Regions from separate parts of the Homo sapiens genome. Here all the other regions are linked to region 3. The links are contacts of gene promoters, found by promoter capture Hi-C in human tissues and cell types (Jung and others, 2019). All regions are on one chromosome and are shown on one strand. Each heading gives the region's core, a stretch centred on a gene start or on the middle of the fragment in contact. The rest is flanking DNA. Distances are from core to core; before and after follow the strand shown. Region 1 overlaps PPT1 (palmitoyl-protein thioesterase 1). Region 2 overlaps RLF (RLF zinc finger). Region 3 holds the start of COL9A2 (collagen type IX alpha 2 chain).

The links. The method cuts DNA at HindIII sites, captures the fragments that hold promoters and counts their contacts. A contact is called where the count stands out against the background at its distance.
Region 1: a fragment that was not itself captured here is called in contact with the fragment with the promoter of COL9A2 in region 3 in 1 of the 25 tissues and cell types used here (IMR-90 fibroblasts).
Region 2: a fragment that was not itself captured here is called in contact with the fragment with the promoter of COL9A2 in region 3 in 1 of the 25 tissues and cell types used here (aorta).

Annotation. Positions count from the first base shown.
Region 1 is chr1:40,090,095-40,093,568 of GRCh38, forward strand. PPT1 (palmitoyl-protein thioesterase 1) reads right to left here. Exons shown (of 9, transcript NM_000310.4): 2 at 2,304-2,413; 3 at 1,951-2,078; 4 at 1,235-1,305. Among named protein-coding and RNA genes, the nearest start is that of PPT1, 5.4 kb to the right of the region's middle. The HindIII fragment of the contact is 4,299 bases long and covers 1-3,474 here.
Region 2 is chr1:40,179,608-40,182,736 of GRCh38, forward strand. The region is part of intron 1 of RLF (RLF zinc finger); the gene reads left to right. Among named protein-coding and RNA genes, the nearest start is that of RLF, 20 kb to the left of the region's middle. The HindIII fragment of the contact is 8,457 bases long and covers 1-3,129 here.
Region 3 is chr1:40,315,198-40,318,761 of GRCh38, forward strand. COL9A2 (collagen type IX alpha 2 chain) reads right to left here and starts at 2,089. Exons shown (of 32, transcript NM_001852.4): 1 at 1,926-2,089; 2 at 393-467. The coding sequence starts at 2,000. RefSeq lists enhancers at 1-163, 947-1,583, 1,584-2,220 and silencers at 334-393, 404-503, 1,264-1,773. The HindIII fragment of the contact is 32,999 bases long and covers 1-3,564 here.

The DNA of each region.
Region 1 (3,474 bases), core at 666-3,165, 230 kb before region 3:
CTCCTTTAAGCACTACAACCACTAGTGTGTCCTTCGAACAGTATCCTGTTGTTTTTTTCCAAGAGATTGGGTCTTGCTATGTTGCCTAGACTAAAGTGCAATGGCTATTCACAGGCACAATTACAGCACACCACAGTGTCTTGAACTCCTGGCTTCAAATGATCCTCCAGCCTCAGCCTCCCAAGTAGCAGGGACTACAGGTGTACACCACCATGTGCCCAGCTATCCTCCATTTTATCGTGTATATATATATATGTGTGTGTGTATATATGTGTATATAAGTGCATATGTGTGTATATATATGTCTATATATGTCTATGTATGTGTGTATATAGGTGCATATGTGTATATATATGTCTATGTATGTATGTGCATATATGTGCACATGTGTGTGTGTATATATATATATTTCATGAATGCAAGAACCTTGTCTGTCTTGTTCCTGGCATATAATAGGTTTTCAATAAATATTTGTTAAATGAATGAATAATAAAGCTGTTTTTACCAACTTACGTTTGTATAATCCTTATACTTTTAAAAAGTATTTTCCTACCTATTATTTCACTTTATCCTCTGAAAAATTCCCATAGGACAGGCAGGGCCATATTTTGGTTTCTTCCATCTGTGAGTGGAACCTAAGATACCAAATTACTTGCCTAGGAGTAATAGTTAATTGGGTGAGTCCAGGTTTCCTGATTACACGGAGAATCATTCTGCTCCCACATTATACCAGCTAATAGCTATACCCATCAACAACAGAGATGAAATTCCATTCTAATGACACATCCTTCCCCAATAGTATGGAATTCCGTCAAAATAGAAAACCTGCTGTTTCTCAAAGAGTTTAAATTTATAGACACAAGAGCTTACACACTATTCTTTGCCTAAGCCTAAATTCAAGAGGATACCACCAAATCAGAGAACAGAAAAGGTCACTCAATTTTCCTAACTCCTCAACCACCACCTGCCACGTGGCTATAACCATCTTACTTCCATGCAATCGTGTCAATGAAATTGGAGAGAAGTAGATGCCAACCTAGTGATCCAGGCCTCTGGAATCCTAAGTCTCTTCCTATGTCTCCAGCAATGCTGGCTAGTTTGTTAAAAGCTAGAGAAACAGGATTTTGCAAGAATGGCTGATGTCTTGTGCAAATATAGTTCCTAGATTTTTTTTTAAATCAGGTGGTCATGTGGGTTAGAATACAGAAAAAAGAAAGCAAAGAGGCAAAGTTACCTTGATGTTGTCCCCCAACCGAGATCAGATTGATCATGGGAGGTGAAGGGCATCTCTGAGCCACTGCCCTCCTACGGAATAAAAGGGAGTTTTAGCTCCGACTGTCAGATGGAAATGTATCATCCACAATCAGCATCACAGATTAAGCTAGTCATCCTCTGTGACTCCCCAAACCCGCAGAGTTTCAGGATTTTCCTGATATGGGCAAATGCAAATATTTCTTTCAACTTTCATAGAAAATAAATTAAGCTCCAGCCAGGCATGGTGGCTCACACCTGTAATCTCAGCACTTTGGGAGGCTGAGGTGGGTGGACTACCTGAGGTCAGGAGTTCGAGACCAGCCTAGACAACATGGTAAAACCCCATCTCTACTAAAAATACAAAAAATTAGCTAGGTGTGGTGGTGAGCACCTATAGTCCCAGCTACTCGGGAGGCTGAGGCAGGAGAATCACTTGAACCTGGGACGTGGAGGTTGCAGTGAGCTGAGATCGCGCCACTGCACTCCAGCCTGGGCAACAAGAGAGAAATTCTGTCTCAAAAAAAAAAAAAAAAGAAAAGAAATTAAGTTCCATAAAGCTTCTTACACAGGAACATTTTAGGAAATTTCCCTTCCAAGATAGGTGACAATCTTGAATTGGAGGAGTGGATTTATCTGAATAAAAGAAACAAAAATCAATTCCATATAAGTGGTACAATATAACAAAAAGGAACGTACAGAAATTGGCCTCCCTGGGAGAATCCCATAGCATTGTAGCCTTGCTGCAATTTAGGATCCTTAGCAAGTGCCTGACACACTGTTGTTACTTGGGAATTGACATTCAAGAAGAAGCTGTTCTCCACGTCCTAAAAAAGAAGCCAGAGAGAAGTGAGAGGATGGGACTGAAAACAACCACTGACATCTTCTCTAAGAGGTAAACTCATTTAGGTTGGTATCCTCACATGAGCCACTCAAGGGTGAAAGTATCACTGTATGATCTGCTGCTGAAAACACAAGGCAAAGCATTTTAACAGTATATGCTATGAAATCAGTCAGCAACCCTTCAAAGGAACAGCTGTGAAGCGCCTTACCTCCATCAGGGTCTTCCCAATCTCTAAAGATAAGACGTAAATTCCAGGTATTTTCTTCTCCACCATTTTTTTAATAGCACCCATGCTTAAGGGATTGCAACAGCTGTCTCCTAGCCAACAAAACACAATGATGGAAACTCATGAGTCCAAATATTGTTTATTGTTTAAAAACTCTGAGGCCTCAAACAGCATTATCAAGGATGTGAAAACAATGTATAGAATGGAAGAAAATATTTGCAAAACAGTTATCTGATAAGGGCTTAATATCCAGAATATACAAGGAATCTATAACTCACTTACAACTCAACAAAAAGATAACCTAATTTAAAAATGGGAAAAGAAATTAAACAGATATTTTTCCAAAGAAGATATACAAATGGCTAACCACTGGCATGTGAAATGCAAACCAAAACCACGATGAGATACCATTTCACACAGACTAGGATGTCTTTAATAATAATTTTTTAATAGAAAATAACAAGTATTGTCAACGATGTAGAAAAATGGGACCCCTTGGACATTGCTGGTGGGAATGTAATAAGCAGCCACTGTGAAAAACAGTTTGGTGGTTTCTCAAAAAGTTAAACATACGATTACTAAATGACTCAGCAATTCAACTCCTAGTTATACACCCCAAAGAAATAAAAACACACGTCCATGCAGAAACTTGCATATAGATGTTAACAGCAGCAGTGTTTGTAATAGTCAAAAGGGAGAAACAATCCAGCAGTCCATCAATGAATGAATGAATAAAATGTGGTATATTCACACAATGGAATATTACTGAGTTATAAAAAAGGAACAAAGTGCTGACACATGTTACAACTTGAATGAACCTCAGAAACATTATACTAAGTGAAAGAAGCCAGACTCAAAAAGCCACATAATGCATGATTCCTTTCATAGGATAAATAAAGAACAGGCAAATCCACTGAGATACAGAAAACTAAGCTGGAGATTATCAAGAAGTAGTAGGAGGGGGCAATAGGGAGTGATTGCTTAATGGCTATGTGTGTTTTTCTGGGGTGTTGAAAAAGAAGTGTTAGTTGCACAACATTGCAAATACACTAAATGCCACTGAATCGTACCATTTTAAATGGTTAACTTTACATGAATTTTTACCTCAATTTTAAAAAACAGAAGAAAGAACATTTTTTGCTTAGCTCCTGTT
Region 2 (3,129 bases), core at 603-3,102, 140 kb before region 3:
TAACCATTTTTGAGAGTACAACTTAGTGGCATTAAGTACATTCACATTGTTGTGCAACCATTACCTCCATCCATCCATCCATCTCCAGAACTTTGTCATCTTCCCAAAGTGAAAGTATGTACCCATTAAATACTAACTCCCCATTCCCTTTTTTCTTCACCTTCTGGCAACCATCATTCTACTATCTGTCTCTATGAATTTGACTACTCTTAGGTACCTCATATAAGTGAAATTGTACAGTATTTGTCTTGTTGTGACTGCCATATTTCACTTAATATAGTGTCCTCAAGATATATCATGTTGTATCATGTCAGAATTTTCTTCCCCTTTAAGACTGAATAATACTCCATTTTATGGATATATCACTTTTGTTCATCTGTTCATGAACACTTGGATTTCTTCCTCCTTTTGGCTATTGTAAATAATGCTGCTGTGAACACGCGTGTACAAATACCTCTTCAAGATCTGCTGTCACTTCTTTGGGATGTGTACACTGAAATGAAATTGTTGGATCATATGGTATTTCTGTTTAATTTTTGGAGGAACCACCATACCATTTTCCAAACCACTGCAGCATTTTACATTTCTACCAGCAATGCACAGGGGTTCCTATTTCTCCACACCCTTGCTAACACTTTTTCTGTTCTTTACTTTTCTTTTCTTTTTTTTGAGACAGGGTCTTGCTTTGTCACCCAGGCTGGAGTGCAGTCACATGATCTTGACTCATTGTAACCTCTGCCTCCTGGAATCAAGTGATTCTCCTGCCTCAGCCTCCTGAGTGGCTGGGATTATAGGCGCCCGCCACCACGCCTAGCTAATTTTTGTATTTTTTTCAGTAGAGACAGGGTTTCACCATGTTGGCCAGGCTGGTCTCGAACTCCTGACCACAAGTGATCAACCTGCCTTGGCTTCCCAACGTGCTGAGATTACAGGTGTGAGCCACTTGGTCTGACCTCTTTTATTTTACATGATAGTCAATCCTAATGGGTGCGAAGTCGTATCTCATTGTGGTTTTCATTTGGATTTCCCTAATTAGTGGTGTTTCATATCTTTTCATGTGCTTATTGGCCATTTGTATGTCTTCCTTGGAGAAATGTCTTTTCAAGTCTTCTGCCCAATTTTTAATTGGCTTGTTTGTTTTGTGTTGTTGAGTTTTAGGAGGTCTTTATGTGTTTAGATATTAATCCATCAACAGATATAAGATTTGCTGTATTTTCTCCCATTTTATGGGTTTCCTTTTTACTCTCTTGATAGTGTCCTTTGATGCACAGAAGTTTTTAATTTTGATGAAGTCCAGTTTATATATTTTTGTGTTGCTTGTGCTTTTGGTATCATAGTCAAAAAATAGTTGCCAAATCCAATGTAATGAAGCTATTTATCTATGTTTTCTCCTGAAGTTTTATCATTTTAGTTCATATGTTTAGATCTTTGATCCATTTCAAGTTGGTTTATGTATATGGTGTAAGGTAAGGTCCAGCTTCAGTCTATTGTATGTGAATATTTGGTTTTCCTAACATTGTTGAATGAAAAGGCTGTCTTTGGCCAGCTGCAGTGGCTCATGCCTGTAATCCCAGCACTTTGGGAGGCCAAGGTGGATGGATTACTTGAGGTCAGGAGTTTGAGACCAGCCTGGCCAATATGGCGAAACCCCATCTCTACTAAAAATACAAAAATTAGCCAGGTGTGGTGGCTCATGCCTGTAGTCCCAGGTACTTGGGAGAACGAGACAGGAGAATCGCTTGAACCTGGGAGGTGGAGGTTGCATTGAGCCGAGATGGCACCACCGCACTCCAGCCTGGGCAGCAGAGCGAGACTCCATCTCAAAAAGAAAAGAAAAGAAAAGAAAATGCTGTCTTTTTCCCTTTGAATGGTCTTGGCATCCTAGGTGAAAATCATTTTCATTTGACCACATATACAAGGATTTATTTCTTGGCTTTCTGTTAGATTCCATTGTTCTGTGTGTCTTTTATGGATAACTCTGTAGTAATTAGGTGTTTAGATTATTAAAGGAATATATGAAAAATTTTCTTGAACTGCAACAGTGATTAAAAGAATGTAAATTGAATAAACAAAGTATTTCTTCTATTAAGCTGATCCTCACAAGTTATATTAAAATTATAATATCTAATAATTGTTACAGCTCCTCAGTCTGTCACCCTGTAACACCAATAATAGGAATGTACATTGGAACAAATTTTCCGGAGCAGAATTTGACACTGTGTAAAGCCTTAAAAATTATCCACCCAGCAATTCCATTTATAGGACATTATTATAAGAAAATTGTCATGGATACATGGGAAAAGTTAGATAAGGGGTGCTCATTTTAGTGTTAGAGGGGTGTTCATCTTAATATTTTATATATAATACTGCAAAGTTAGAAGACATTATGTCCATAAATAAATAATTGGGTAATAAATTGTATCCACACAAAGTTGTGCAGCCATAAAAACACTGACATTGAAGAAAACTTTACAATAAATGGAAAGACGTTATAGCATGATTCTATTAAAATGTTCGGTTTAGGCATTTAAAAAAACCCTCAAGCGGCCGGCATGGTGGCTCATGCCTGTAATTCCAGCACTTTGGGAGCCCGAGGTGAGCAGATCACGAGGTCAAGAGATCGAGACCATCCTGGCCAACATGGTGAAACCCCCGTCTCTACTAAAAATACAAAAAATTAGCCAGGCATGGTGGCGGGCGCCTGTAATCCCAGCTACTTAGGAGGCTGAGGCAGGAGAGTCTCTTGAACCTGGGAGGGGGAGGTTGCAGTGAGCGCAGATTGCGCCACTGCACTCCAGCCTGGTGACAGAGGGAGACTCCGTCTCTAAAAAAAAAGAAAAGAAAAGTAAAGGAAAACCCCTCAAGCTTAATGTATTGCCTGTTAATAGTGGTCTGTTTCTGGGTGGTGGTATTATGGGTTATTAAATTTTTATTTTTGCATATGTATGTAACAATGTTATGTTACTTTTATGACAAGACAGTAAAAGGCATTTTTGAAAATTGAAAATGAAATAAAACTAGAAAGCATAGTTAAATCCTGTGGCAGAATCGGTATCTAAAAATAATCTTAGTAGGCTGAGATTGATGGACTGAATCCAGTGAAGTTTAATCAGGATGGATGAAAAAAGT
Region 3 (3,564 bases), core at 839-3,338:
CCAAGCTGGTCGGTGGTCTGGCCAAGGCTCCCAAGCGAACCTGAAGAAGCGTCCAGATGTGCCAGAGGCAGGGTGAGGGGTTGAGTCGCCTCCTACCCCACAAGGAGGGGAAAGGAGAGGAGGGGGATGAGGCCTCGCTGTGAGCTGCGGCCGGCGGACTGAACAGCAGCTCCTTGTCTGTCGGCGGCTATAACGGGCTCCGCATGTCAGGGCTGGTTTGAGGTTTTTGCAGAACAAACGGCGTCCTTGTGGTGCGGGCCGGCGCCGCCTATTGGCGACGAGGGGCACTACATCTCCGGGCACCCCGAAGTCCCCACCCCCACCACAGCGCTCACAAAGTTCTCCTTTGTCTGCCGCCTCCCTCCCGCCCTGGTCTCAGGTTAGAGACTTACGTCGATGCCGTCGGATCCAGGCACTCCCGGCGGTCCCGGGGGACCCGGGGGGCCCCGCTCTCCCGGTGGACCTCTCTGAAAAACACACACGGGGTGGGGCAGTCCTCAGACAGTGCAGGAAGCTGGGCGTCCCCGGGGCTGCAAGCGACCCTGGGAGCGGGGTCCTAGGGGCGCAGCTCTTCCGCGAACTCCCACGTATTGAGAATCTTCTGTATAGCAGGCACTGTGTGCCATTACATGCATTCATTATCTTACAGAATACTCAGAACCGGGAGGCGGGCGCTATTACGGGCCCCAGTTTGCAGTCGAAGAAACTGGCTCAGAACGTGAAGGGTCCATGGTCACTGAGAGTGGGCGGCGGCGCCAGGAGTCCGCCCTGGATCTGCCCGACTCCTTCCACTGTGCCAGTTTGCCCTTGCGCGGTCGCGGTGGGGAATAGATGGAGACGTGGACAGCTCAAATAAATCACAGATGGAATGTAAGGTTGTGCCTAGCAGGCTGCCGGCCCTCAGTGAGCGGTGGCTCGGGTTGTTGTTCTTACGTGAACGACAGGCAGAGACAGCGCCTCCTCCTCTCCCCATGGTGCGGGAAAACCCGACGGGAAAGTGGGGGAGGCGCAGAGAAAGGAGGTGTAGGGAGGTGAAGCGGGTACTATCTTCCCACTCGGAGCGCCCCTTCGGCAGCACAGCTGCCCGGTCCTCCCTCTGCTAAGCCCTGACTGCTGCAGGGGAGCAGGAGGAGCCGGCACCTCCCAGAAAGCAGACCCTCTCTCTGGATCCCGTTTGCCTGCAATTCAATGCCCCTGGGTGGGTGTGAGGTTTCAGGGAGGTCACAAGTCATATCAAGATGAGGCGAGCTCACAGCTGGAGAGTCTCCATCCTGCTGCCCATCTCTGAACAGATCAGAGATCTTAAAAGGCGGCCCTTTTAAGAGGCCAGCTCGGACCCAGGCAGGGGTCCCGGTGCCCACGACCTCCCCAGGCCGCGAAGTGCCAGGCTGGCGCCCCGCAGGCGAGCTCGAAACCACACCCAGCACCCGACCGGGCCCAGTCTCTGCCCTACCCGCGCGCCCGCAGCCCCCGGCGGCCCTCGGAAGGGAGACGTGGGTAGGCGGGCAGGGCCGAGAGGCCGCCTCGGGGCGACAGCGGCGTCTGGTTGGAGCCGGCGCCCCCTGGGAGGCGGCGGGGGCGGAGGCTGCGCAGCGGGTGAATGAGCACCATTGTATGCCCCGCCACCTGGGCTCCCCGGGCTGCCAGGACCGGGCGCCAGCTCCTGCCCCACGCTGCCTGTCCCGGGCCGGGCCGCGCGTCTGGGGACGGGTCCCGTTTGACTCTCCGGCTCAGCCACCTCCATTCACGGTGCCGCGATGGGCACCATGTATGCACCCACCGAGGGGACCTGCCCGCGGCGCTGTCCTCAGGTGGCCTCTCGGGCTAGGGGTGTCAGTAGGCGCGGGACACAGGCAGAGCTCCTCCATCCCGGACTCCAGACCCCGCACCCTGGACCCTGGCAGCGGAGGGGCTGCGAAACTTACAATCTGCGCCAGAGCGAGCACTACCACCTGGAGGAGAACAAGGAGGCTGCGGGGGGAGGCCGTAGCGGCGGCCATGGCTGGCGGCGAGACCAAGGGGGACGGGTGCGTGTCCGCGCACGCACCGACGGCAGAGTCTCCCGGCGCTCCTCCAGCGCTGGCTGTTCGCGGGCAGGGTGGGCTGGGGCTCCTGAATATGCGGGGGGCGGGGCGGGGGCCGGCGTGAGCTGTCACCTGAGAGGACCGGCGGGGTTGCCGGGAGGGAGGCCGGCGCCAGGCATCCAGCTCCGCCCCGCTCGGTCCAGCCTCCTGCGCCCACCCTCTGTCCTCGAGGGGCGACCGGGGTGCGGGTCGGAGATGATGGTCCAGTTTCTTTGTGAGAAGGCATAAGGCCGTCTGAGGTTCCCCTCGGGACCTTCAGGCCCCAGCACCTTCCCCCTGACGCACAGCCTGTGCCCCATCACTTACCCTACGTCCTCTCCAGGGCCCAGGCCGAGAGCACCTCGGGCTCTGCAGATCTTGCTGCAGGCTCTCCCCAGCTCCCGCCCACCTTGCTCCCCTCTCCTCTGGCTCCTTCCTCTCCAAGCACAAACAAACAGGCCTTTTCCATATTAATATGCCACAGTCCTTCCTGGATCAGCCGTCTCATGAATACTCCATCGGCCTCTTCCAGCTCTTTAGTGGAGCTGTGTGCACCTCCCCCACCCCCGAACTTCCTCACCTCGCTTTCACCTCCCTACTCTGTCCCAACAAGCAAATCTGTCTCCTGGAGGTCTGCAGTGAAGCCCAACCCTTCTTCGGTCCTCCAGGCAGGAAGCTGTTGGCATCTTCACCTGCCCTTGAAGTCTTCCCCATCCAAGCTCCTGCCATCCAGCTCCCCTTTTTCTATTGCCTTTAATTCTCTGCAGCTGCCTTAAGCACTGGTGTGTTTAGGATTGGGCCTTCTCACTCCATGTTCATAGAAACAACTACCACTTTATTCACCAGAGTTTCCGAACCCCGCTGTCCAGCATAGCCCGACTCCAGAGAGCCTTCCCTTCCCTCCCACTCACTTAGGCAATATTGGTAAAATGCTTTGGAATCTGACTTTTTCACAATTATAGATATGACCACAGGCACCCCAAACTCTATGAAGTCTCATTTTCCTCATCTGTAAAATGGGGATACTAATAGTCCATATATATATATATATATATTTTTTTTTTAAGACAGAGTCTTAAAAGGCTCTGGAGTGCAGTGGCACGATGTCAGCTAACTGCAACCTCGCCTCGCGGGTTCAAATGATTCCCCTGCCTCAGCCTCTCGAGTAGCTGGAATTACAGGCATGAGCCACAATGCCTGGCTAATTTTTATATTTTTAGTAGAGATGGGGTTTCGCCATGTTGGCCAGACTGCTCTTGAACTCCTGACTTCAGGTGATCTGCCTGCCTCAGCCTCCCAAAGTGTTGGGATTACAGGCATGAGCCACCGTGCCCAGCAAATTGTCCTTATCTTAAAGGGTTTTTGTGGAAATTGAATGAGATGACTCATGCGAGGCATTTAACCTCGAACCAGCACATAGTAGGTGCTTGATACATTTTAGCTTTCCTTATGATTTATGGATGACTGTTTTACTAGGTTGGCATCCAATGTGGGGAAGCTG